7 separate regions of the Homo sapiens genome follow, and all the other regions are linked to region 1. Evidence: promoter capture Hi-C in human tissues and cell types (Jung and others, 2019). All regions are on one chromosome and are shown on one strand. Each heading gives the region's core, a stretch centred on a gene start or on the middle of the fragment in contact. The rest is flanking DNA. Distances are from core to core; before and after follow the strand shown.

Region 1 (3,553 bases), core at 411-2,910:
ATTTAATGGGTCTGTCCTCTGAGGCCCACAAAAGTGCAATCATAGAACAATAGGGTCAATACATTTCTTATCAAGGGTTCACCTACTTTGATATCACCCATTCTTGGAAGGGAACTCAGGTCAAACTGTTATCAAACAAATATATAAATAGATAAACTAAATGAAGCTAATGAAGAGACCACAATCAAATAGTCCTGGGAAAGACTATTAGCTGGCCTTCTTCAGAAATAAACATGCAGGGAAAAATTGAGAAAGGACAAAGGAGAAGGTCATGCACCTCTAAGAATAGAGCAAATAAAGATATTAGTTTAAGACAACGGTCCTCCAGGTAAATATAAAAGCTAAGTTCTTACCACCAACATGAACAAGTGAAATACACTTATTTGATGGAAAACTTACGGGCACAAAGCAATTGTTGACCAAATAGCAGAAACCAGTCTACAAAAATCATAATTAAAAATACAAGTATAATTCTGTTAATTAGGCATAGAAATTTATAATCTCCACGTCTTACAATTGTCCAGTGTTTATTCATGTACCTAAATTAAACTAAAATAATTTCAATCCAGGCAAACCACCCTGAAAGATTTTTTTCTTAAGATGTTTATATCTAAACCCATGCTCAGATCAGCAAAAACATTTAGAAAGGAAAATATTCTATTAAATTTTTTAAAAACATTTTATTGGGGGATCGTTAAATATAAATAATCCATTTTAAATAATATAAACACGTAGCAGAAGTACATAAAACATACTTTCATTTTCTAAAACATAGAGAACAGTAACTTCTTCGCCTCCAAAAGAACAGACCATTTAATACCATTTAAAAAAATCTTTTGGCATTCCTATTGCCCTTCCCATAACTAAATGAATCAGTGACACGTGTATATATATACATATATTGGAGATGGAGTTTCGTTCTTGTTGCCCAGGCTGGAGTGCAATGGTGCAATCTTGGCTCACTGCAACCTCTGCCTCCCGGGTTCAAGTGATTCTCCTGCCTCAGCCTCCCAAACAGCTGGGATTACGGGCGCCCAGCTAATTTTTTCTACATGTTGGTCAGGCTGGTCTCGAACTCCTGACCTCAGGTGATCCTCCCACCTCGGCCTCCCAAAGTGCCGGAATTAGAGGCGTGAGCCACCACACCCAGCCCTGATGTATATATTTGAATCTGCTGTTTATTCATATGTTGAATAAACATTCACAGTTGGGATTACTGGCATACATCTTCCACAATTATAACATTATTTTAGCTAGTGAATAATAAAACTAATTTGATTTTGGTTAACTTCTTTTCAATACAGATGGTTTAAAAATAAGACAAAGCCTGTCTTTTTCTATTGTGATCTTAAAAATATCTTTCTAACATGCTTTTTAAAAAAAATACATAAGTATGCTACCACTGCCTTGTAGTAAACTTTAGAAAATGTTGAGATTCCAAAGGGCTGCCTACAAACCAAATGGCATCCTAGCTTTGGCAGGCTGATGCTTCATTTTGGCTGCTCTCGCCCCCTCTAGCGTTTGCAAAGCTCATCTGTCTGATTATCCAGTTACCTCACTGAACAAGATCTTGGCTAAGTCCTGCCCATCTATGACATCACCCCCTTCTTCAGCCACTGCGAGGTGAAGCTTTAAACTTCAGACTTGGAGGTGGGCTGTGTGCAGTAAACTGGAATGCTCTCCCTCGCTCACTCCTCAGTGTAGGAGTGATCTGAAGCAGGACAAGCTCAGCCTGCAGCTGCCGTGGGCTTTGTGTGGACTGGACGCAGAGCTTGGGAGACGGGGGAGGGCTATTACTCCAATTCACTGTCAATGGAATTACAGCTATAGCGGCAGTGTATATAGGATTGCTTTTTCTCGTCTTCCTGGTAAGTGTTTTCCATGTTTTTTCTTATGATTGTCCCAGAAAGTTTGCTTGGTTTTACTCTCTAGAAAGAAACGACTTGATACTATGAGAAATCCAAATAGGAACGTTTGCTCTGTCACCACAACAAGCAATATATGTGCGTGCAAGCCAGCAATGAAAAATTTCACTATCATGGCTGAATGTAAGAAGTTTCTTAGAACCTTCTTTCATTTATAAAAGATAGTAAGTGGCTATTTTCTGTCTTGAGTAATTGCTATGTGAAAAGAGCCTTATGGAAAACAGCAAGTTGGAAAGTTCAATGTTAAATATTAAAGAATACAAGGAGATTCTTCACAGATAGGAAAGCAACTTGGTGTGTACTGTACGTGTGGGATGATCACCAATTGCTGTTTTTACAACTGTGAAAGAAAATCAATAATCCCTCAGCCCATGAGTACGCAGTACATGAAAAGCATACATCTTGCTCACAGCTAGCCGAGCTACTCCTGGAGACTTATGTGCCTCTGTAAAGGATTAACAGCTACACCTAGATTTTAAAGCTTGCACTGCTATCGTGCCTGAGCTGCTTCAAGCATTTCAGGCTTGCAAATCTCAACTAGTAAATTGAACTCAGAGGAGGGGGAGACACTCTTCCAAACCATATTCCCTCTTCAATAGAACACCAAAATCCATTGCTTAGGCAAGTGAAGTATGTGACTAGCATAGTAAATGGCTAAGTCTACTCAGAAAAACTAACAAAGCTCACCCTGGAAGCTATGCCTGATGTATGCAGTGAGTTTGGGGTAGCAGGAAAGAAAAATAAATGAGTAGAGCCCTTATCAAGTGGGTTTTGCAGAGGATCCATTCTTTGCAACTTATAATAGGAAAATCTTATATTGGAAGAAATGCATTTATACTACAAAGCTTGAAAAAGTAGTTAAATGTATCTTCTCAAAAAATTTTGTTCACTGAATTAGGTCTGAAACAAAATGGTTGCATATAGGTAAAGAGTGCAACAGGCCCATCCATGTCTTCTCAACATCTGGGGGGTTTGTTTTTATTATTTTATTTAGAATTTAAAAGAAAAAAAATTGATTTTTTTTTCAATTTTTAGTCCAAAATCTCTAATGGTTTTAATAATAAGGCTATTTTAAACATTCTTAATAAATCTGTCTATTAATAAATCTGTCTAAAATGCTCATCTATGTTATTTTATTATCCAGAAACAACATAAATAAAGCCACTAGAAAAGTCCTTCAGCTGTAGCAATGCCTTTCATTTATCTCTGACTGCATAAAAATATCCTGACCAGCCTAAACATAAAGAATAAATTTGCTTATATTCAGGGAGAATCACTTATACCTGACCCAAAGTGACAGATGACTAATATTCATCTCTTCCGAAATGAGTAAAGAAAAATTAATCCTTTAAAAGTGCCACAATCAATAATATCAACATTACCAACTACTACAAATATTAATGATAATATGCCAGGTTTTACCATGGGAAAATTAAATCAGAGATATGCCCCTTAGTTTGGACACATATATATACACACAGACAAACGCACATCTATTTATTACCCTGAAATAAAAACAGAGTTACAAAAACGCATAGATTTACTAAGAAAACTAAAATTTGATTTTTTGAAGAGCACAACCAAAACACATCAAGTCCAAGGATCAGCAAAATATTAGTGAATGAATA
Region 2 (3,553 bases), core at 783-3,282, 2.0 Mb before region 1:
AATTATGGAGCCTTTTGATGAGCTTTTATTATTTGCATTTCTCAAAAGCTAGAATGGCTTAAATTTACAGCCACAAACCTTTAGGGTGCAGATGTTTCAAAAGCTGCTAGTTACCATGTAGGTGGGTTTACTTGCAAAAGACAGGTTATAGCAGATTTGACCAATTCGAGTGCTATGTTGTATTTTTTCTTCTAATCTTTAAAAATTGGGTAAAAGTTAGATAGCCAAATATCACAGGAGTAAAGAAAATGACTAGTAAATGAGGAATGACAACAGAGTACACTTTTATCAGGTGTTAACAGAAGTCAAATGTTTTCCTTTTATTAGTAAAGACTCCACAACTTTATTAGTTCTCAATTTCCTTTCAGTGATTTATAACCCAGTTTTAGCTGCTCAGTTGTTAAAAATCATAAAAGATAGGCAAGGCTTTTTATTACCCATTTTAATTTCTTTTCTATATTTTAGGGCTGCCATTATTTATATCCAAAGTAATAGCGATGCCATTTATCAAAATGGCTTATACTGTCTGTTGCCTCCAAGACCACCTGCACTTAATACAGGGTCTGGCTCAACTAAAATGTGAACTTTGCCAAGAGAAAAGGCTTTCAAAAACAGGAAACTTTTCCATTACATTTTTCCATTACATGTCTTCTTGATGGCAGCAGACTGGCTGACCTATCTTATTATAATGTAATAAACATTGAAGTCAGGATTTGAGCCTGATAACTCTTAGAAGAAAATTGGGCTGTGTCAGTTCACCGGGAATCAGAAAGAGAAAAATCAACTTATAGATGAAAATTTCACTCTGAGATCATTAAGAAATATTACAGTATCAGCAGAGAGAATGCTGACTATATTTCTAATATGCATACATATACATATAGCTAGCTAACTTGCTAGATGGATGATACTCAACGCTTTCATAATTCCCAACCCTGGGATTCACGAATAATTATAAAATAATTTATATTATAAAATAGCTTATAAGATTTAAGTAAATACTAATTGTCTTAGCTTACTCTTTTGAAAATTCTTCATATAGATCTATTTTTCAACCAAAAATGTAGAGGCTTGGTGGTTGAACATCCAAAATAAAGCTAATTACTTGGGTTTTTAGACTTCACAAGCACTGAAGAAGGGAAAGACAAATTTCATTGGAAATCGGTAGGCCTCAAATTATTGATTTCATTTTTTAGTGACTTAGTCTTGCTTTGGCTGTGTGGGCTCTTTTTTGGTTCCATAGGAATTTTGTCTTTTGTCTTTTGAATATATTTTATTCACCGAATTGCAAAACAAGCTTGCCATTATGCTTTTCTTAGGCCTAAGAAATATGCTATTGTAATCCTCATTTGTTTGTTTCCTGTGTTTTACTCTACATAACCAAATTTCATAATGAGACAAAGTAGGCCATAGGGCTGTTGTTAAGCTCTCCTTCAGCATTCTCTAGGCCTATCATATCTGTCACAAATATCCAATTTATTTGACCTCAGTCATCATTTTTAACTTTAATACACAGTTTTCCCATAAGAGCTCAAATATCTTTGCATCATTTCCCACTCCTGCTGTAAGGATAATAGCTATAACAGGAAAAGATGCCATTTTAAGGGTTTTCTCATGAATACTGCATTTCTGTTTGTGTCTGTCCTTTTTCTGTTCTACAACCTCTTGAAAAAATAATATGTTTCATTATTATATCAGGCCCCATTTTCCTTCTGCACATCTGAGCCTTACTTCAAATGAGAATACTGTGAAGATTTCATAGGAAGTAAGATACCTTCCTCAAAAGCAGTATAGCCAAGATAATAGGTAAAATATCTCCATGGTATCTAAAGTGTTACTTCTAACGCTGTGTAGGGAGATTTTAATCATCAGCATCTGAGTTATAGAATTTCAGAACTGAAATGAAACTTAAACATCTTGGTTCAATTTCTTCATTTTCACGATGATGAAACTAGGAACTAGAGAAGTTTTTATACATTGCTCCAGATTATACAACCAGCTATTTGCTAAGCTGAGACTTGAAATCCAGTTGCCCCAAATCTTAGGTTATTAAAAGAAAAAGACATATGGTGTTAATTTAACTCTTCCATTAAATTTGTAAAAAGAATAATCACTTTTTACTGTTTCTATAAAAATGATGCATGTTCATTTATAAAAATTTTACATAATACAAGGAAATATAAGAAAAAAAGGAACAGATTATCCCAAAATGATTCTATAAATATGATTAATGTTACCATTTAATGAACATTATTTTAAGTATCTAAATGAATAGGCACAGATAAGAGGATGGAGATGTAGATTGACAAAAAAGAAATTAAAATCGAAGAATAGGGAAAAGAGTGAAATAACTTTACGACATTGTGTTTATTCTAGATATGGTATTTTTAAGTATAAACATTACATTTAATTTTACTTGAACAGAAGTGAAAGAAAATGAAAACTGAAGAAATTGCTGAACTTCAAATTAAATTTTCTTCACCACATGATATATTGTCTCTAAAATATATGTGACTCTAAGATTATTTTTTAAATTGAAATGTTAAGGTCACTAGTTTTCAAATGATGTGTTTCCATTTTATAAATTACTAAGTGACTCTTCTAACAGAGATAAAATTAACTTTATTTTCTCCCACCTCCCAAATTTTTTAAGTTATATTCTGAGATCTTTACATTGTGCTATCTTGTGGTTGGATATTTTTGGTCATTCAGTATGTTTTTGAAAGATGCACCTTGATGTGTTTTATCTGAGTTCTTATCTGCTTCAGAATGTGTATTTGTGGCACTTGAAAGACCCTTTGGTTAGATATAAACTTTTTGGGTCACATTTCTTTTATCACATTTTATTTTGTGTTGTTATTTTCTCCGCTCTGTGTGCTGCGTGCTAATCTGTTTTTATTGTGCTTGTTCTGCACTTGTTCCTTCTACTGGGGCTTTCATTCCCATCGTGTTTTTGTTTCTTCCACCTCTTTCTTAAGTCCTGCTGGCTCACATTTTTTTGTGGAAGGAAGGAGGGTGCAGAGGCACTGATTTTTTTAAAGTTTTTTTTTTCATTTTAGAATAGCTTTAGACTGTGTTTTTGCCTTTTAATTTGCCTTGTAATATTTTGTTGAAAGCTAGACACTATATATTGGGTAAAAGGAATTGAGGTAGATTGATTTTTAGTGCGAGGTTTTATGTTTATCTGGCTAAGATATAGGCTAGGTTTATTGGTTGATGTCGATGTGGTGTCAGAGGCTAAAATTTCCTGTAGTGCCCTTGTTTTTGTCTTCCATTGTTGTCTTTGGGCTTTCCTGGAGTCTTTTAAAATAGGGTCTGAGGCTTACAGTTATTTCAGCTGTAATCCCTGTTACACAGCAGCCCCATGATGTGATGGTAAGGTATGGTGAGAGGAAGCCTTCTATAGTCCTAGGGTAGTTTGCAGTCTTTTCATGAGCCTGCGTTGAGTGTTTCATTTAGCCCTGGTCGGTTAGGCTCTGGCAAAACCTAAGGTAGTTAGGTTCTGGTAAAACACTTTCTCTTAAGAGCGAGCCTTGTGAAGGAGAACAGAGAG
Region 3 (3,553 bases), core at 431-2,930, 1.6 Mb before region 1:
AGCTGACTTATATAACCCCTCATCTTACAGTTTCCTCTCTGATACAATTATTTTTAAACTGCCCATGATACTACTTCCCCTTGATTCATTCTCTGCTAGCATGACCTGGATAAGGGAAAAATTATGTTTTTTGTGTGATATCCACTCCTCCTGAGCTCAATTTTAATCAAAAGGATCCAATAAAATAATTAAAACTAAAGCATGTTTATCTATTTGATCATTGAATATAAAAACCTCAAGCTGTTTTTGATTATTTTCTTCCATCACTCCTGACGTTTAATGAAATGCCATCTTTATGGTTCTGCAAAATATTTCGGTTTTCCCACTTTCTAGTCTCCTGCCTTCTTTCCTCATTTAGGGATATATCATCTGTCTCTTGGATCTTTCATTTTCTTCTCCTATATTCTATTTTGTGATTTGATAGCAGAAAGGCCTTTTAAAATTTGAACTTGATCAAGACCTTTCCACTTTTGAAAAAACCCATTCATCCTCATTCTTCCCCATTGCCACTCAAAGTTGTAAGGTTAGCTGAGAGAAAGAACGAGAGAGAGAGAGAGAGAGAGAGAGAGAGAGAGACCCAAGGTCAGGCGAGTAAGTTTATTAGCCTGCTGGGCTGCTCCACCACAGTCAGCGGAGGCAGCCCTGAACTTACAAAATGAGGGGTTTATATGGTGGAGAGAGACCCTGGGGTTCTTTGTCGGTTAACTTTACCACATATCATCTCGTGACCAGCTTACAATATAGGAATTTACAAGAGGGTGTAACTTAGGTTTATCCACGTTTCTCATGACCTCCCCCATGCCACCCGGAGGGCTGTAAGCAAGTCTGGCGACCTTGCTGTAGTGCCTAGATAAGGGTCCAGGAATGCAGCTGCAGAATATTCGGAGTAAGGGTCAGCTGCATTGTTTTTGGGGAGGGGGGTGGTCCTGGGGCAGCTTGTCCCTAACAAAAGTATGGTCCATGGACAAGCAACACTGGAATTACCTGGGAGCTTTTCAAAAATGCAGAATTTCAGGCCTCATCACAGACCTACAGAATCAGAGCCTGCATTGTATAACAAGATGTCCATGTGATTTGCATGCAAGTTAAACCTTGAGAAGCACTGGCCTAGAAGATGTAAGTGAATCTGCAAATTATTGATCCCATAAAAATGCCAGACTGTCCCTAGATACTTCACACGTAATCTCTAATCATCACATTACCTCTGGAAAGTAAGTGCTGTGATCTCAGTTCTGCTTTCAAGAATCATAACCAGCTCTACCTGACTACAATCCCTCTTTTCTTTTTGTTTTGCCTGGAAATGTCTTTATTTTGCTTTTTAGCTTTTAAAATTGAGATCTACTTGCATATAGTAAAATGTACAAACCTTAAGTGTATATCTTTATGACTCTTTAGATATATACACATGAATTTTCCTAATTACCATCCAGATCCTGATCACACCGTGATGTAGTTGTGTCTGTCTTTGTCTCTCTTACCAGATTAAGAGAGAAATTTTGTTTTATTCATATTTTCCTGCCCAGCACCCATTTAATAAGAAGTCATCAATCAATGTCTATTTAATTGGACCTGTATTAGAGTACTCATCAAGGTCTGTAAATAGTTATTAAGGACTATAACTTACTTTCTCTTGCATCCTTTAACAACAAGGTAAAGTCTTGTATGCTACTAAGCACTCCACACATTATATTTGTTGCAGAGAACCCTGGAATGGGAATAAAGATAACTGGATGTTTTAGGCAAATCACAACCTCTTTGACCTTTAATTTCATCATCTATTGAAAAGAAAAAAGGCTGTGGAACGAGATAATCTCCTAGGTTCATAGCTATGTCTTCAGATGAAGTTTCCAGTCACATTGACGTTTGTTTATTGGGTGGATGATACTGAGAGGGAACCTTCACTGTTTGTTTACTGAGTGAGCTTCATTCTCTATCACTGTTGCTATAGGGAACTGGCCATTGAACCTAATCATCGCACCAGGTCATTGCAAGGACCTTTAACGTACTATTTGTGATCTGGCTTCGTCTATATCATGAAGGGAAAGAGTAGAGCATCCAGAGAGGGGAAAAGGCCAAAATCTGTATTCCTGTGTGTCCCCTGGTCCCAGTGCTCCACTTGATAAATTTTCAGAGGAATTCAATCAAGAATGAGCAGGTCCCCATTTAATAGAGCCTGGGGCACTGCTGAAAAGGTGGGCCTGCTTGAGGTGGCAACCTGAGTCTGTTGATGAACACCAGGGAGTTTCTGTGACTTGTAAGGCTTGACCCTTCACTTTGAGGATAAAGTGCTATTTCAAATATCTCTTGGAATATTTCTCTTCCTTGCCCTCTAAACCTGTCTCTACTCTTGATCTGTTTCACCTGTGTGCTTTACATATTTTGACAATCTTTTCTTGAAATAGAATTTTTTTTCTCATTTTTCTTAAATAAAGTTAATTAAAAATGGGGGAAGAAACAAAACAAGGTGTCCAGCTTTGAAAACGAGGCAGGCTTTGGCGTATTGCACAAAGACAAGGTATGCCTGACTGCCTTGCACCGCACCCAGGCCTGCTGTGTGTTAATGACTCCTCCCAGGGCTTCCAGCCCATCTGCCTTTCTCCTCAGTGCATGCAGACCTTTCACATTCCATCCTGCTTTCTTGGCCCCATGGGGGCAAGCTTTATGTTTCCCTCTTCACATTCGGACTAGTTGAATTCTCCCCACTGTCCTCTGCCCTAATCCCTCCTGGCTGAGGAAACAAAAGAACACAAAGAATTCCACAGTTTATGTATATATTTTTCATACAGTGAACTCAATCAGCCATACTTATGGGAGGGGACCATTAGAACAGATAATCCAAAAATCCATTCGCTTTTCTTTAGAAATAGATCACATGATTGTTTCTTGGAGCCTTGGTAATTAAGTTTGGCTCAAGCTAATGCTTTAGCTTTAATTAATTTGCATAAAAATTGGTCTGGGGACATCAGTCTAGAATGAAGCATTTCTAGGGGATAAACCTGAACTCACTTTGTAAATGGACTGTTTCTGAACAATAGCAACAACAATATAATTTTATTGCTTGCAGATTATTAGATGCTCAAGTTTTCTTAAGAACAAAGACTGTTTCTTTGATGCTTGTGTTGAAGAAATCATGTAAATTGTGTCTTTTTGTTAAACTTGAAAGTTGATTGCTGCTAATATTCAAAACTGTACTTTTATAAAAATTTCTAAAAATATCCCAGATTAAGAACAAAAGTTAAGCCTAGATTAGTGTGAATTTGATTATCTTCTAGACATCCTTGGTTTTCTCTTAGAGCCAATAAAACTTACTTTCCTATTGTAAGTTATTTTTAAAAATTATTTTTTGCCTTGTAGTTACAAAAGAAATGCAATTTCCTTATGGATACGCTAAAAATGCATATAAGCATTGAGAATTGTGGATAATTTTATAACTAAGGGATAGCCAGTTTTAATATTGTGAGTTGTCATATTTCTCTTGTATGTGTGTATACACACACAGATGCAGACATATGCAAAAATATGTAAATATATCCTGGGATCAAAACATATTTAC
Region 4 (3,553 bases), core at 699-3,198, 1.6 Mb before region 1:
CCCATGCAATGCCAGTGAAAATGCAACAGGAAGGGAAGAAATAAGAGAGATAAAGAAAACCAAACCACCACCGCAAAGGTGCATTTTAATGGGCAGACACTGTTGCTGAGTAAGAAATAAAAGAAAGGTAAGAGTCCAGAAAGGAAAAAGAGAAGCATAAAGAAAGACTGTAGTTGAAATGAGACTGCCTGACTTGGAGACTACATCACAGAAGGTGATATGGATTCCAACTAGAAGAGACTAGTCATGGTCCCAGCAGGAAGCAGGACACATTCAAAGGGGTGTAAAAAGTTTAATATGGGATATTTTAAAAGATGTGGGCAGAGTCAAGGGAATCAATCAAGGAAAGTAAAGATGTCTAAGACTAGCAGTGGATGGGAGCTGTTACCACCCATAGGCCTGAGAAGAGAAAGGGAGTGGTCACCTGAAACCAAGCAATAGCTGGAGGTGGAGAAGGCCACCCGCAAGTGCTGTGTCCTTGGGTGAAGTCATTTCTGTCTGGCAGCAAGGGTCAAAGAGAATAAATGTCTTTTTGTCCTTAGTACTTTTCCCCCCATTCTCCAATCTCCCTTAAATGACTTCCACTGGTCTAGCGCATGCCTTCTCAATGGGAAGCAAACATTTGTTCTTGGCAGGGCAAAAAGGAAAAAAACAAAAAACACAGCAAAAAACTCTTAGCTATTATAATGGTCTGTACCCTCCAAAAGATACAGTTCATAAATAGATATGCAATATATTTATGGTATTAAAATTTCATGGTCAGGTGGAGACAATTAGAAAAAGAATGTCTAAAAAAGCCTCCTTAGGGAGTGTAGTCATGAAAATAAAATTGAGAAATATTAGTTAACCAACCCAAAGCTTGAGGGTGAGGGAGTCCAGTCAATGCAGCCCCTTAGGTCTCAGGCAAAAAGCAGTCTAGAGAATGTTCTAGAGAGACAAACAGAGGCAACTGAGCACACAGCCCTTTTTAAAATTCTTCCTGACCTCTACTCTTTAGATCTCTGTATCTATGCACAGGAACAGATGGCAGTTATGATGGCTAATTCAGGGAAATCATCCATCTAGCGGAACCACCAATGAGAAGAATTAGCAAAATGACTGTCCACACTCACGGCACACCGTGTCATCAGCGTAGAAATGTGACCTTTGTCTCATGTGTATTTTAACACTTACAATAAAAAGAGAACAAAAAAAGGTGCATAAACAATTCAAGGGCATGCCTACATATGTAATATTAACCCTTTGCTAATTAGTTGATTTGGTGTTATATAATGGACAAGCAAAATTTGACAACAGGATTGAGTTAACACTTTTAGAAACCCTAAACACCAAACAGATTTCCATGCTCTCCCCATCCTCATTGGGCTGTACTCTGCCAAACTTAACCAAAGTTGGACAATTTGATCTCTTGGCCACAGCTATAATGGAAGGTCTATAAGAAAACCATTCTGGCAATTGGATGAATTCATCAGGAAGATGTGATTGACTGATCTTGTGAGCTGGTTCCCCACATTGAACCATCAAGATAATCTGATCGTTCTGTTTTAAATAACATATCTCAAATTGTGATCCACACACTTAATACTCAGATCTAGTTTCCAAATACGCTTCTCTACTAAAAGAAACCAAACCTCCTTGAAGAATTGGTGGGTACCAAGGCTAAGGCGTTATTACAACCCATTGAATAGAATGGGAAATGATGAGTCCACGAGGATATAAATAAGTACACAAATGAATAAATTGAAAGTTTAATGAGGAATGGGCCATTTACCTAGTTTCATTGTGCCTTCCCACAAGGGGTACTCATCAATTACAAACAGAGGAAAAAGCAGCTGTGTAGTTGAGGAGCCTCTGAGACACCACCTTAATCAAGTAATCAAAGCGAGTGAATATTGTCAATAATGGGACAAATTGAGATAATGGGCCCTTCATAGCCTGCCATGAGAAGAACACAGTATCACTTCTGTGATAGTTCTTCAAAGATGCATCACTTGAATCCAGCCATGAGAAAACATCAGACCAATCCAAATTGGAAACATTCGAGTAGATAACTGACCTGCAATCTTCAAAAGTGTCAAGGGCAGTAAAGTCAAATTAAGATTGGGAAACTGTTCCAGACTGGAGGAGAATAAAGAGATGTGGCAGCAAAATGAGAAATTTGAGTTTGAAAGCGTTTTTTTTTTTTGTTACAAGGAGCATCATTGGAAAACTGGTGAAACTTAAATGAGATCTGAAAATTAGATAGTAGTGATATATCCATATTCATGTTCTAATTTTGATCTTTTTATTGTGCTCATGCAGGATGAATGCCCAATTTGTAGAAAATGCTCAGTTAAATGTTTGGGGATAGAAACAGTAGATTGGCAACTTATTCCCAAATGGTTCAGGAAAAAAAGGTTATTTTTACTGTACTTGCAAATTTGCTGTAAGTTTGAGATTGTTTAAAATAAGAAACAAAGGCAAAAGAAATGGTGCTCCAAAGATGCATTGCATCTAGTTAGCATGCAGCTTTCTGATTTGGTGAAGGGTTGGGCTAGGTGCAGGAATCTGCGTTTTTGGATACACCATAAGTGGCTGAATGAGAGGTTCTCCCAAGGGTGGCAGTTTGCAACTGTTCACTAAGCACTCAGCAAAAACATTCCACTTTCGCTCCACATTCTACAGCCAGTCTCCCCTTCCCTCTGCCCCTTTCCTCTCAAACCCCATATCTACTTTCCTTCTGCCAGCAGCAAAGATTGTTAGAAGCCAGTGGGGAATTCTCAGGATGGAGAATTGAGAAATGATTCAAGTGGTTCTGCTAGCATTTTCTGTCTACGGAGAATACAGTACCCTGGGTTTCTGCATGTCATTCCTCAGGCATGGTGATCCCTGGAGATGAAATCATTTCCTAAGACTGTCTCTGATGGCTCCAGAGTGACAAGAGGTAGGAGAGAACAGGCACACTTGAGCAAGGCATTAGGAGAGTGTGGCGTGAATCCAGGAAATTCTAGTGTAGGTGGACAGTTTTAAGGCTCTCTCTGGTATAGCAGGAAAGCACAACTTTGTTACATTAGAAAACTGAAATTTTGAAATACAACTACAAAATCGTAACATGAAAATTCAACACTGTTCAAATAGCAATACCTCTCCTTAACGACAAAATAAACCCTTTCTCTGTTGAAAAATTAGTACCTAATATTATAAGTCCTCAAATGTCCTATTGGCATGGTGTCAACATTGAAAACAATCACTCTAATGCTTTAGTTCTATAAACCCGGGGACTGAGTTTTCAACAAAACAAAGGCAAACACATCTGACTGATGCATTCTTCATCCTTGGTTTAGGAAATCAAAATAGACAAATTGTTAAACACATAGTCTAAATTACTCACAGACATCTATAACATTTAAAGAAAGGTACCTTTAAAGTTACTATAAAAAGATCCACTGTCTATGCCCTGATAAACTGATCTTTTCCTTTAGTTTTTTAATAGTGAACTTAGTATCACCTTTCATGAGTCCTCTAGACAATTTCAGAGGAGTTTTAAAAGAAAGTTTCCTCATCTGTGAAACGA
Region 5 (3,553 bases), core at 602-3,101, 1.5 Mb before region 1:
CTGCAGTGAGTTATGATCAGTATGATTGCGTTACTGCGCTCCAGTCTAGATGACAGAGTACGACCCTGACTCTGAAAAACAAATTTAAAAAATAGTAGTTGGTAGTTTTTTCAGTCATAGGTGATTTCATTGTGAATGAATCAGTTACTATGCAGATAATGATAAGGGGTTGAAGGTATCTAAAATTAAAACATATTTTGTGAGCTCACAAGGTAAGTTTATCAACCAATGGTCACCAAACTAATGAAAAAAAAAAAAAAAGAAAAGTATTAGCCCAAGAAGCAATGAAACTTGCTTAAGGTATATAAAGAAAATAATTAGTGAATTTGTTCTTCATTGCTCTGTATACTAGCCTTTAGTTCCACACTTTTATTAGATATATAAAACCTATGTAATGATCATATTTTCTGAGATTATTACTCTAGATTCATGGGCAGTAATAGATAAATGATACCAGGAGTGGGGTGGTGGCAGGAGGACCTGGAGAGTAGGGGTTGGGTGGCAGGTGTATGTGGTTAACAAAGGTCAAGATATAGAAATCTGTGGGTACAGAGTGAACAGAGAGGGTGCAAAACCAGAAGTCTGGACTAGGAGGGTCATGAATCCAGGAAGCCAGAGACCAGGCTGAGGGTACATGTTCCAAATCCAGCTAGATAGTTACTTATGGGTAAAGCATCAGCAGTCGAAACACTGTAAAATAACCCCAATCCAAAGGCAAAGACTGCGGCAATGGCCTGAGTGGTAAGAGACAGTACCAGCAGATGGAGCCTCTCAACCTCTGCACTATTGCCATTTAAGGCTGAATAATTATCTGCTGGAGGGTTGTGGAGGGTGCTGTACTGTGCACTGTAGAATGCTTAGCAGCACCCCTGGCCTCTAATCACTAGAGCACAGTAACCTCTCCCATCCCTCAGCTGTGAAAAACAAAAATGCCTCAGAATGTCCCCAGGAGGGCAAAATCGCTCGTAGTTGAGAACCATTGCAGTAAACAAAGGTTGGTTTTTCCTAAAGGGAGGAGTGAAGGAGGGTTTACCATGACAAGTCTTAAGCTTCCAACGTCAAGATTCTTTAATACCGTTATAAACCGTATGTTCTTTATTGTTATTACGGGGAAAATTAATATCCTTCAGTTCTCTAGCAGGACTAAGACTCTAGTAGAAAAAAAAGAAAAAATGACTTCCACATTCCAGATCGGGAATTGTCTTTTCTTTTCTTTTTTTAATTTTTTACGTCTAGTGAAAACTGCACACAATAAATTCTACACACTGAAAAAATACAAGCACTTTTATGTAAAGAACAAAGAGATTTCTGAGTTGAATCATACAAATATTATTTGCTGTAGGCCATGTAATGGTGCACTGTAACTATAAATTATTTGCAACCAAAGTGTATGATAATTCCATAAAGCTGCCACACTCTACTTTCAAATAATACTTGTGGAAGGAAAAAGTCAAATGTGCTTTACCCCACAGCAAGATATAAAACTGTTGAAAAAAAATTCGATGCTGGTTTCTTTCCCTGGAGTTTCTTAAAGCATTTCTACAAGGGGCAATTTTATGGGCTTAATTGTGCCCTGTGAATTTTTATGTTGAAGGCCTAACCCTCATATCTTAGAATATGACTGTATTTGGAGATAGGATCTTTAAGAGCTAATTAAATTAAAATAAGGTAATTAGAGTGGGTCCAAATCCCATTTGACTGGTATCCTTATACAAAGAGAAAGATACAGCACAAATGACTCAGAGGGAAGGTCATTTGAAAGTACAGGGAGAAGACAGCCAACTACAAGCCAAGGAGCGAGGCCTCTGAAGAAATTAATCTTGCCTCCACTTGGCCTTGGGCTTCTAGCCTCCAGAATAATCAGAAAATGTATTTCTGTGGTTTAAGCCGCCTGCTCTGTGGTACTTTGTTTTTAGAGGCCTGACAAACTAATATAAGCCATTTTCCATCTTGTCCTGTAGATGCTATAAAGGCCTTTGGGCTTCTCGTTTACCACTTACCTGCTCATCTGCAGGTAATAGCACCACAATACCTCTATAATGTGAATGGAATTCAATTTTGAGATGAATGATAAAAGTACTAATTCAACTCATATTAGAAGTTTCCATGAAGGTATTTATAGGTACTAGAAGAAGAGAAGCATGGCATCTCTGAAAAATGATGGGCAGCAGATGAAATGGGACTTTCCCCAATACTCCAAATGCAGCCTGGAAGTTGATCTCAGCCTTCTCTAAAGATGCTCTGAGAAAACGAACCTATTATCACTTGGGCAATGACAGATGCCAATCTCAATTTTAAAATACAGCTCTGTTGCTTCCTAGCTGAATCCTCGTTTTTCATGCCTAAAACATAGGGTATCATAAATTTGTTTCATATAGTTGCTGCCTTGGCATCCATTTTTTTTTCTTTTTTTCCTTTTGGTTTTAAAATCTCTACAATATTTATTTATTTATTTATTTATATTTTTTAGAGATGGGGTCTTGCTTCGTCACCCAGGCTGGAGTTCAGTGGTGCAATCATAGCCAACTGCAGCCTCAAATCCCCGAGCTCAAGTGATTCTCCCACTTCAGCCTCCTGAGTAGCTGGGACTGTAGGTATGTATGCACCACCACTCTCAGCTAATTTTTATTTATTTATTTTTTGTAGAGCCAAGTTCTTGCTATGTTGCCCAGGCTAGCCTGAAACTCCTGGATTCAAGCAATCCTCCTTCTACAGGCATGAGCCACTGTGCCTGGCCAGCCTCCATTCTTAGGCCTGACATAAGTTGTTTGAAACCCAGTTGTATCCTGTCACCTTTGGCCTACTTAAACTTCCCTCCCTGTGTGATCAGTTGTGATATGTTCCACTTGTTCCTCATCCAGCTGACCCCAAACCCAATATACTCCACAACTGCTGATCATGGTAAAAATCTAATAGTGTCAGAATCATCGAAGTAAGTTCCTGCTTCCTGAGTGTTTTCTTTAAACTAGCCAATCCACAACCCCCATGGGAAAGCCTAAGGGGTGGTGCATACAGAACTAATAAAGACAGCCCCCAGGTGCTTGCTCTCTCTTGCTGCCCACTTGCTGGCTGGGCTCCCTGCCACCTCCAGGCTTCCTGTTGGTCTCCTGTGGGCATCCCTCACCTGTCTGGGACTTGTGAGTAATAAATGCCTTCTGTTTTGTGCATTTTGGTTTTACTTCCTCGCTGTGTCTCCCCTGACATACATATCTGAACCCAATTTTCCCCCAACCCTTTTCAAAGCTTTCCTGGAGAGTGACTATCCTGGCTGATGGCCATTCTCAAGAGAGAGAAACCTTAAGACCAAATTAGAAAAAACCCTAACAATGGAACCACAGCACAGGGTTAATACGGTGCCTCCTTTCTTAGAGTTATCATGAAGATTAGTGATTTACCCATGTAAAGAAATGAATGCTGTGGCTGGCTAATAGAAAGCAATTCAAAAAGGTTTGAATTATTAGTAACCATTATTGTTATGTTATTAAATATATTAATTATGATTATTATTAATCATTATTATTGAACTGTAATAGCAATTATCATTGAACCATTA
Region 6 (3,553 bases), core at 623-3,122, 1.5 Mb before region 1:
GAATATAGAAGAATGATAAAATAATCATAGGTAATATTCATTTATCAGTTTCTATTTTTCAGGCATTAGTCTAATAAATTTAATTATAAATTAACTTATTAATATGTGCTACAATTCTAGGAGCCAGTAGATAATTCTTGTTTCTATTTCATAGATGAGGGAACTGAGGCAGAAAAAGTTTAAGTAAGTTGCCTGAAGTTACACAGATAACAGGTGGTCACATTTTCAGCTATTGCAACATAATAAATAATCACAAAATTACAATGTAATATAATAATACAGAATGATTCTCACAATGATGATATATAGACATATGAACTACACACATTCATATATATGTTTGTGTTGTTATTATCCAAAGCAGCCCCTCAAATATCTGGGATTTTCATTATACTTCTTATAGATGATATGTGGTCAGCTGAGGTTCACCAAATCTAGACTGAGAATGGATGGGAGCTTCTGATTTAGGCTATGACAGTTGGGGCAGCTGGGCTTTGTACCATAGGTGGGCTGGGGCAATTCTGTTTCACATGTTTCTTATCCCCTCTGGACTAATGAGTTATCAAGTCAATAGTCTCATGGCAGTGCCAAGAGCAGAAAGTGAAAATGCACAAGGTCTTACGAGGCCCAGCCTTGGAACTAACTTAGCCTCACTTCCGTCACCTTTCAGTAAGCCGACAGAAGTCACAGAGCCAAGGAAAAAGTCAAGGAATCGGGATGTACTCTTTTCTCACAATGAGACCATGGCAAGGATATAGGCATACAGAGCCACTGAGAACGGGGGCCAATGGTTCGGTTCATCATGTGATGAAAGAGACGAACTTGGGCAATCTTGTCCATAGTCCTTGCTCACAAGTGTAATGCTATATTTCCTCTCAAGGGATGCTTCTGTTTCTTCTCTTCATGAAGAGATATATTGTAAGGAGCCTTTTTTGAGAAATGATGGATAAAAAATTAGGCTTTCACTAACATTTGAGATTTAAGCTGAAATAGGAATTCTACATGTAGAATGAGGCAAATATTACCAATAAACATAACAGGAAATAATTTGGGCAAAAGACAGTGCATATGTCTATATCTATAGTCATATCCATATATAAGCACACAGTTTACATATGCATACACATGTATGAGTTGAGTACCCAAAGCCGTCCTCCAAACTGTCTGGGCTTTCCATTGTACCTCTTATACTAACTGACTTCTGGGAAATCATTCTTATTTTTATAAATGCTTTTATCAAATGAAACCAGACTACAAGCTTACAGTTGCATTAGTCCATTTTATTGATGTATTTATTTAAAAGGTTCAGTCTGTCTTATATCAGAACAACTTTGAATGCAAAAAATGATGCTTATCACTTTTATTTTCCTATGCTGCTTTTGTGCGTGTGGGATCCAAAAACTCATCAAAATCTAGCTGTGCTCTACCGGATTTTATCTCACAGTCATTGTGATGTAGCAACACTGGTCAATCTCTTCTCAACAGAGCACAATTGCCATAGAAATAGCTAAGGGGATGAAATACAATTGCTGAAGAATAATGAAGTGAAATGAACCCCCAAAGCTATCTTTCCAATATAAATCACAAAGTTAAGTTGCAGTGATCTGAAAACAGAATTTAAGGATGTGTGCAATCCAGAAAAAGCTAATTGATGCTTAATTTTTGCATCACATCTGGTAAGGATGTAATTAAGGGCTCCACAAGATGGAAACATTAAACATTTTGCATAGAAAGATAAGAAATGAGAATATCACTATTAGGATAAAAGCAACTTCCTTCTCTTCCCTGGTAATGTGAAATAATTTCTCCTACACTGAAGAGCATTGGGAGCTTCTGAGTTTATTGTTTACTTTGTTCCTTATTAGAGAGGAAATCCAAGTGTTACTAAATTAAAAGGAAAGAATGGAATGTACCACAGCCCCATAGTAAAAAAAAAGCTTGATATTCTAGGTCAAAAGCTGCCCAATCTTGACAAGAAAATTAACCTGAGTAGATCTCTGGAGTATTGAATATAATACGGTATATGAGTTTTTCTCAAAATTTTTAGTCCCATAGATTTATGACACTGGGGTAAGGTGATAGTTCCTACTTAGTGCTACAAAAACTCAAGTGCCAACAATCTGAAAAGTTCGCTGGCTGATGATTTTAGGATATCTGATTATTTTCAATTGATGATGGGCTAAGCAGTTGATGATGGGCTAAGAGTATCACAAAAGTTGCATGAGATTCAAATTACAAAAAGACTAAACAGGAGGTTAGGACCAACAACCACAGGATAAGCATCAGCTTCTTTCGTACATCATCAGAGATAGACCACAGCTTTTGTAACCAAGAGGAACCTAAGGTGTCTGTGGTCAGAAGCAGCTCAGAGGCCAATATATATGTTAATAAAATTGTTTTGTTAATAATATGGGGCAAATCAAGTTTCCAGAAACTCTTGAGTTTCTGGAGGTAGAAATGAAAGGCTGCACTTTGGTGACCTGAGGAGGAAAATGTGTAGAATGCGGCAAGTTGGAAAAAAACAGATTGATGGGGCTAGTGATCAAAAAAACAGACAAGCACCTGAACATGATACAGTGTCTGCTACTGAGGACACAGTAGAGCCCTCGAGGGGTTCTTGTGAGGACAAGAGAGGCTCATGTTGGAGGTAGATACGAGTCTGTAGTGTTGCAGACAGTTAGCTAAGGAGAAAGTTGAGAGACCAGTTCATTCCCACACGGAGAAAAGGGGTCCCATTCAATAAGATTTTCTGTGTCTCACTCCACAGAATTTCTCTCTCTTTTAAAAGATCCGATTACCCAAGCAAGTTCCACAGAGCAAATCTTAGTGCATATTATACTTTTGAAAAGGCATTTATGGTTAAACAATATTAAGAAACACTGCATGTTTAACTTTGTTTAAAGGTTAAAAAGGGGGCTTCCTTTAATATCTTTTTTTTCGTCTACTATCCTTCATGGTACAGCCCTGTCCATCAAAACCTATTTTCTTGGCAACCTAGAGAGAAGCCTGCAGACCAAGTACATATGTGTGCTGGTGCACACAGCTCATATTTTTGCAAAGAAAAAAATGTTATCCTTATTGAACTCCAGCTAAGTCCCTTTAATGCTCTGATTCAAGAAGACATCCAAAGGCCCATTCCTTGTGGTTTCCATTTAGCAAGGCAAACCTTATAGGCACAATCTTTGTAATACACAACTGGACTTTCTACAAAGAAATAGCTGTGGTCTACTTGCTAAGCTTCTGCCCAATTAGACCCATATTGCTTCCTTGAAAACTCTTGAGGTTTACCACAATTTGGTATTGCTATTCTTACTGCGCAGCTCATGGAGGTTGATGCCAGATCATGTTAAAGTGGTAAGTCCACCAGCCACTCACACATCAGAGCTATTACGGATAGTCAATCCCTTTCAATACATCATTTATGCTTTGAAAGCAATTTGTAAAATGAATAAAAGCAGCTCTGTGAATTATAATAAAATTACAGAAATTATTTTAAAATTGAGCTGCGTATTCAGGTAAATGAATGCTTTTTCTTGTCAACCACATGAAACTA
Region 7 (3,553 bases), core at 280-2,779, 1.5 Mb before region 1:
AAAAGTTGCATAATTTGACTAGAAGTCTAAAAGTCAGACTCATATAACTTCAACTTAAAAAAGATAATTGAGGAGATAATTTTTCCAGGAAGTCCTTGCTTCCATTATATCTGAATATTTTAGTAAAAAATTTCAAAACTTAGAACTACCTGGACAACTGTCATAATATTTCATTCTGCTACGATCAGGAAGATGTCACTCAAGTAGAAGTGTTTCTTACTTTTGACTATTCTCTCCCATTTCTTGTCTACCCAAGGGAGACTGAGATTGGGATAAAAGGAGGCATCTAACAGTGTCATATGAACACCAGCTGTCGCACACAGGTCTGGAGTTCCATTTTATTTTAGACTACATTAAAAAAAAAAAGAACTATTGTTTTGCCATTTAAAAACTCTGTTAAAATATGCCACAGAGTTTCAGCCTTGGGGCATATAACAAAACGAAAACCCACTGGGTTCTTTATCCTTTAAGCTTTAAGGCACTTTAGAGAGGTGTCCATAAAATAAGTTATGTGCATTTTACCTAACTCAGGCGAGCTCTCACCGTGCTGCACTTTGAGTGATAAAAATCTTCCTCTCTCATATTCACATTTTTAAAGAAATGAGTCACTGCATTCTCAGTTTCCATGTCCAGCACTTGAAGCCAAATCCTTTTCATTTGAAAGGGATGAGGCATCCAGAGTGACTGATTTTGCAAGTTGGCCTCTATGATAAATTATTCCCAGATGCTAAGATGGATAAAGTACCCCCTCTGCCCTGAAATACCTGTGTAAGCAGGTGGATTTCAACCAGATGGTTGCAAACACTACATATTCTGCCATTCTTCTGGACATAATTAAAAGTTGAATAAAGACCTTTCCACTGCCAAAGGCATAATCATCACACTTCATCTGATAAAACATTTAGTAAGCACAGACTGTGTGCCAGAACTGTGCTGTAGCAAAAGCTTTGCACTGGTGGAATTAGTCTACACTCAGAAAATATTTATGAAACACCTGTGATGGATATTGAAGAAAGCAGGGAGAATGCATAACCCAGGTAAGTGCAGTATCATGAAAAAGTTTGTACAGGTCTTAATAATAGAAGCCATTACAATTCTAATGAATGGAGTCCAAGGACAAACTGTTATGAACAGAAATAGTAGTTATCTTATTTGTGTTCCACCAGGGGCATAGTGTTAAGACTAGGATATAAGTTCAAATGGTTTATTTAGGAGGTGATCCCAGGGAGCATGGAAAGAGTGGTGAAGTAACACAGAGAGGCAAAGCAATCAATAATGGGTGAATTATTAAGCCAGCTACTACAATGGGTCACTGGAGCTTACTGCTACAGAGAAGCTCTGAGATGTGGTGTATAAGAGAAAGCTTAGAATTATGGCAGCCAAGAGGAGGGGAGCTGGGGTATTGATACACTAGAGAATCACTGATTGAGGGAAAGGTTTTAAGGGATGTTAATTTCTTGTCACTGGCAGCCTGCCATGTGCAGAGTAGTCTTCTGCTGACCAGGAAGGTTTCCACTATAATGGAAAAGAACCCCTGCAACAGAGTTGCAGATACTGGAAGCTAAAAATTGTGTGGAGCATAGTAAAGTGTTAAGGTCCAATGTGAACAGGGCACGGGCAACATCTCCTGCAGTGATGTTATTTTACCCTCATATATTTTCTTTTTTTCTGTCCTTCCTCTCTTCTTCTCTTCCTATTTCTACTTCTCTCCTCAATTAACTTGGTTAAGGGTATCAGAGCAAAGGGGTCTTACCTCTTTTCTAATTGTTATTTTTCCCTTGAGAAAATTATTTACTTGACAATATTACTTTACAATATATTTCCAAAAACAACATGAACATGGAAAAACAAAAACTTTTAATAAAAGCAATGGTAGGTAAACCATGCTGTTTTATGTAATAGTGAACTCCGTGGGCTAGTTTCTTCCCTATGTACACATGTATCACACTGTCTCTATTAAAACATCTGAAGTTCAAGATATTGTGTTGTTGTTGTTTTGAGACGGGGATCTCTCCCTCTGTCTCCCAGGCTGAAGTGCAGTGGCCCAGTCACTGCTCACTGAAGCCTTGAACTCCTGGGCTCAAGTGATCCTCCTACCTCAGCCTCCTGGGTAGCTGGGATCACAAGCATGTGCCACCATGCCTGGCTAATTTTTAATATTTTTTATAGAGACAAGATCTCACTATGTTTCCCATGCTGGTCTTGAACTCATGAGCTCAAGTGATCCTCTTGCCTCAGGCTCCCAAAATGCTATGATTATAAGTGTGAGCCACTGCATCCAGCCAGGATATTTTAATATTCAAGGTGTGACAATATATTTAATTCTATTCAGCTGGCATCTAACAAGAAACAAAACTTTCCTGAGTCCCTGCTTCCCTAGCTCAAAAGTTTCTCATAGGAAATCAATTGACTTGTAGACTTAACATGTCTCTACAGGGCTGCCTTGTTTTGCCTTTTATATGAGCATTCATCATTTTAGAAAAGTGAGCTTAAGAAGTAGCAAGACGTGTAAGCAACAGAATTTCAGATGAAGTCATGGTTACATAAAAAATTTAGAAATGTCCAATGGTTTTGAGTTGCTGAGTTAGAATTCAAGTTGGGTTTCTATAAATTTGCTTTAGCTTGTGCTTTTTTTGGGGAGGGGTTGGTGCATGCTAATGATTAAAGGAATATGTTCTACACTGAAATAAAGACATAGGGAATTAATAAAATATATAGGAAAAATATAGCTTTCCATAATAAGGGGGGAATCAGCCCTATAAAAGAAGTCTTTGAGATATTTCTGGGGTACCTGAACCTGTTAGTTCACATTCCAAGTGAGCATATCAAACATCACTATGATTAATATGTCATTTCTCTATTGTATTCACATTTCTCTGTCATAATAATCAGAACCAGATCTAGGCCTGTTTGTTTCAGTCTGTTGTAAAAAATGTGGCTCTAGAAAATTATTTATGAAGTGGTGTAAAATCAAGGCACCATTTGTCCTTCTAACGTTGAAGAGACAAAAGCAAACAACTTAAGTTAGCTCTGTACTAAAATTCTGATCACTGAGACTTGGTTTCTACTTACCTACTCAAACAAATGCAATTGAATACCTAGCTAAAATTGTGTCTAATGAAGACTAATCTGTGGAAAATGAACAGGCATTTCAGAATTGATAATTCTTGCAAGGATGCAGACTTTTGAGACGAGTGTATTTTTTTTTTTTTTAAATCCAATATACCAAGAACTGGATTCCCTTTTCCTGTTTCAACTCAAGGGGGAGAAATATCTTATCCACATCTCTGAAAGCTCCCTTCCGGGCCTTCTTTATTGTCAGTATGGTATTCTTCCATAGTCAAAAGCTGTGGAGCATGTCAGTTTATTGTGCATGTCCGTCCTCCATATTTATTCAAAGTAACTATTATGGAGGATCAATGGAGCATGAGTTATTCTTGCACTTTGTGTGATATCTCAGAATAGTCTAGACAGCCCCAAATATCAGTTCAGATAACAGTGTGAAAAATAATAAGAGAAAGGACTCAATTCAACTCAATAGGCATTTGCTGGA

The links. Contacts are between HindIII fragments. The study calls those that stand out against the background at their distance.
Region 2: a contact is called between a fragment that was not itself captured here and the fragment with the promoter of FLRT3 in region 1, in 1 of the 25 tissues and cell types used here (dorsolateral prefrontal cortex).
Region 3: a fragment that was not itself captured here is called in contact with the fragment with the promoter of FLRT3 in region 1 in 1 of the 25 tissues and cell types used here (dorsolateral prefrontal cortex).
Region 4: a fragment that was not itself captured here is called in contact with the fragment with the promoter of FLRT3 in region 1 in 1 of the 25 tissues and cell types used here (dorsolateral prefrontal cortex).
Region 5: a contact is called between a fragment that was not itself captured here and the fragment with the promoter of FLRT3 in region 1, in 1 of the 25 tissues and cell types used here (dorsolateral prefrontal cortex).
Region 6: a fragment that was not itself captured here is called in contact with the fragment with the promoter of FLRT3 in region 1 in 1 of the 25 tissues and cell types used here (dorsolateral prefrontal cortex).
Region 7: a contact is called between a fragment that was not itself captured here and the fragment with the promoter of FLRT3 in region 1, in 2 of the 25 tissues and cell types used here (dorsolateral prefrontal cortex and lymphoblastoid cells).

What each region holds. Positions count from the first base shown.
Region 1 is chr20:14,335,719-14,339,271 of GRCh38, reverse strand. FLRT3 (fibronectin leucine rich transmembrane protein 3) reads left to right here and starts at 1,660. Exons shown (of 3, transcript NM_198391.3): 1 at 1,660-1,868. All of the region lies in intron 3 of MACROD2 (mono-ADP ribosylhydrolase 2), which reads right to left. The HindIII fragment of the contact is 3,050 bases long and covers 1-2,588 here.
Region 2 is chr20:16,319,865-16,323,417 of GRCh38, reverse strand. All of the region lies in intron 24 of KIF16B (kinesin family member 16B), which reads left to right. Among named protein-coding and RNA genes, the nearest start is that of KIF16B, 250 kb to the left of the region's middle. RefSeq lists a silencer at 560-854. The HindIII fragment of the contact is 5,671 bases long and covers 1-3,553 here.
Region 3 is chr20:15,975,606-15,979,158 of GRCh38, reverse strand. The region is part of intron 13 of MACROD2 (mono-ADP ribosylhydrolase 2); the gene reads right to left. All of the region lies in intron 1 of LOC613266 (a long non-coding RNA gene), which reads left to right. Among named protein-coding and RNA genes, the nearest start is that of KIF16B, 600 kb to the left of the region's middle. The HindIII fragment of the contact is 4,742 bases long and covers 1-3,553 here.
Region 4 is chr20:15,905,230-15,908,782 of GRCh38, reverse strand. The region is part of intron 10 of MACROD2 (mono-ADP ribosylhydrolase 2); the gene reads right to left. All of the region lies in intron 1 of LOC613266 (a long non-coding RNA gene), which reads left to right. Among named protein-coding and RNA genes, the nearest start is that of KIF16B, 670 kb to the left of the region's middle. The HindIII fragment of the contact is 3,267 bases long and covers 315-3,553 here.
Region 5 is chr20:15,865,312-15,868,864 of GRCh38, reverse strand. All of the region lies in intron 9 of MACROD2 (mono-ADP ribosylhydrolase 2), which reads right to left. Among named protein-coding and RNA genes, the nearest start is that of KIF16B, 710 kb to the left of the region's middle. The HindIII fragment of the contact is 6,134 bases long and covers 1-3,553 here.
Region 6 is chr20:15,836,531-15,840,083 of GRCh38, reverse strand. The region is part of intron 8 of MACROD2 (mono-ADP ribosylhydrolase 2); the gene reads right to left. Among named protein-coding and RNA genes, the nearest start is that of KIF16B, 740 kb to the left of the region's middle. The HindIII fragment of the contact is 3,866 bases long and covers 1-3,553 here.
Region 7 is chr20:15,812,227-15,815,779 of GRCh38, reverse strand. All of the region lies in intron 8 of MACROD2 (mono-ADP ribosylhydrolase 2), which reads right to left. Among named protein-coding and RNA genes, the nearest start is that of KIF16B, 760 kb to the left of the region's middle. The HindIII fragment of the contact is 4,299 bases long and covers 1-3,553 here.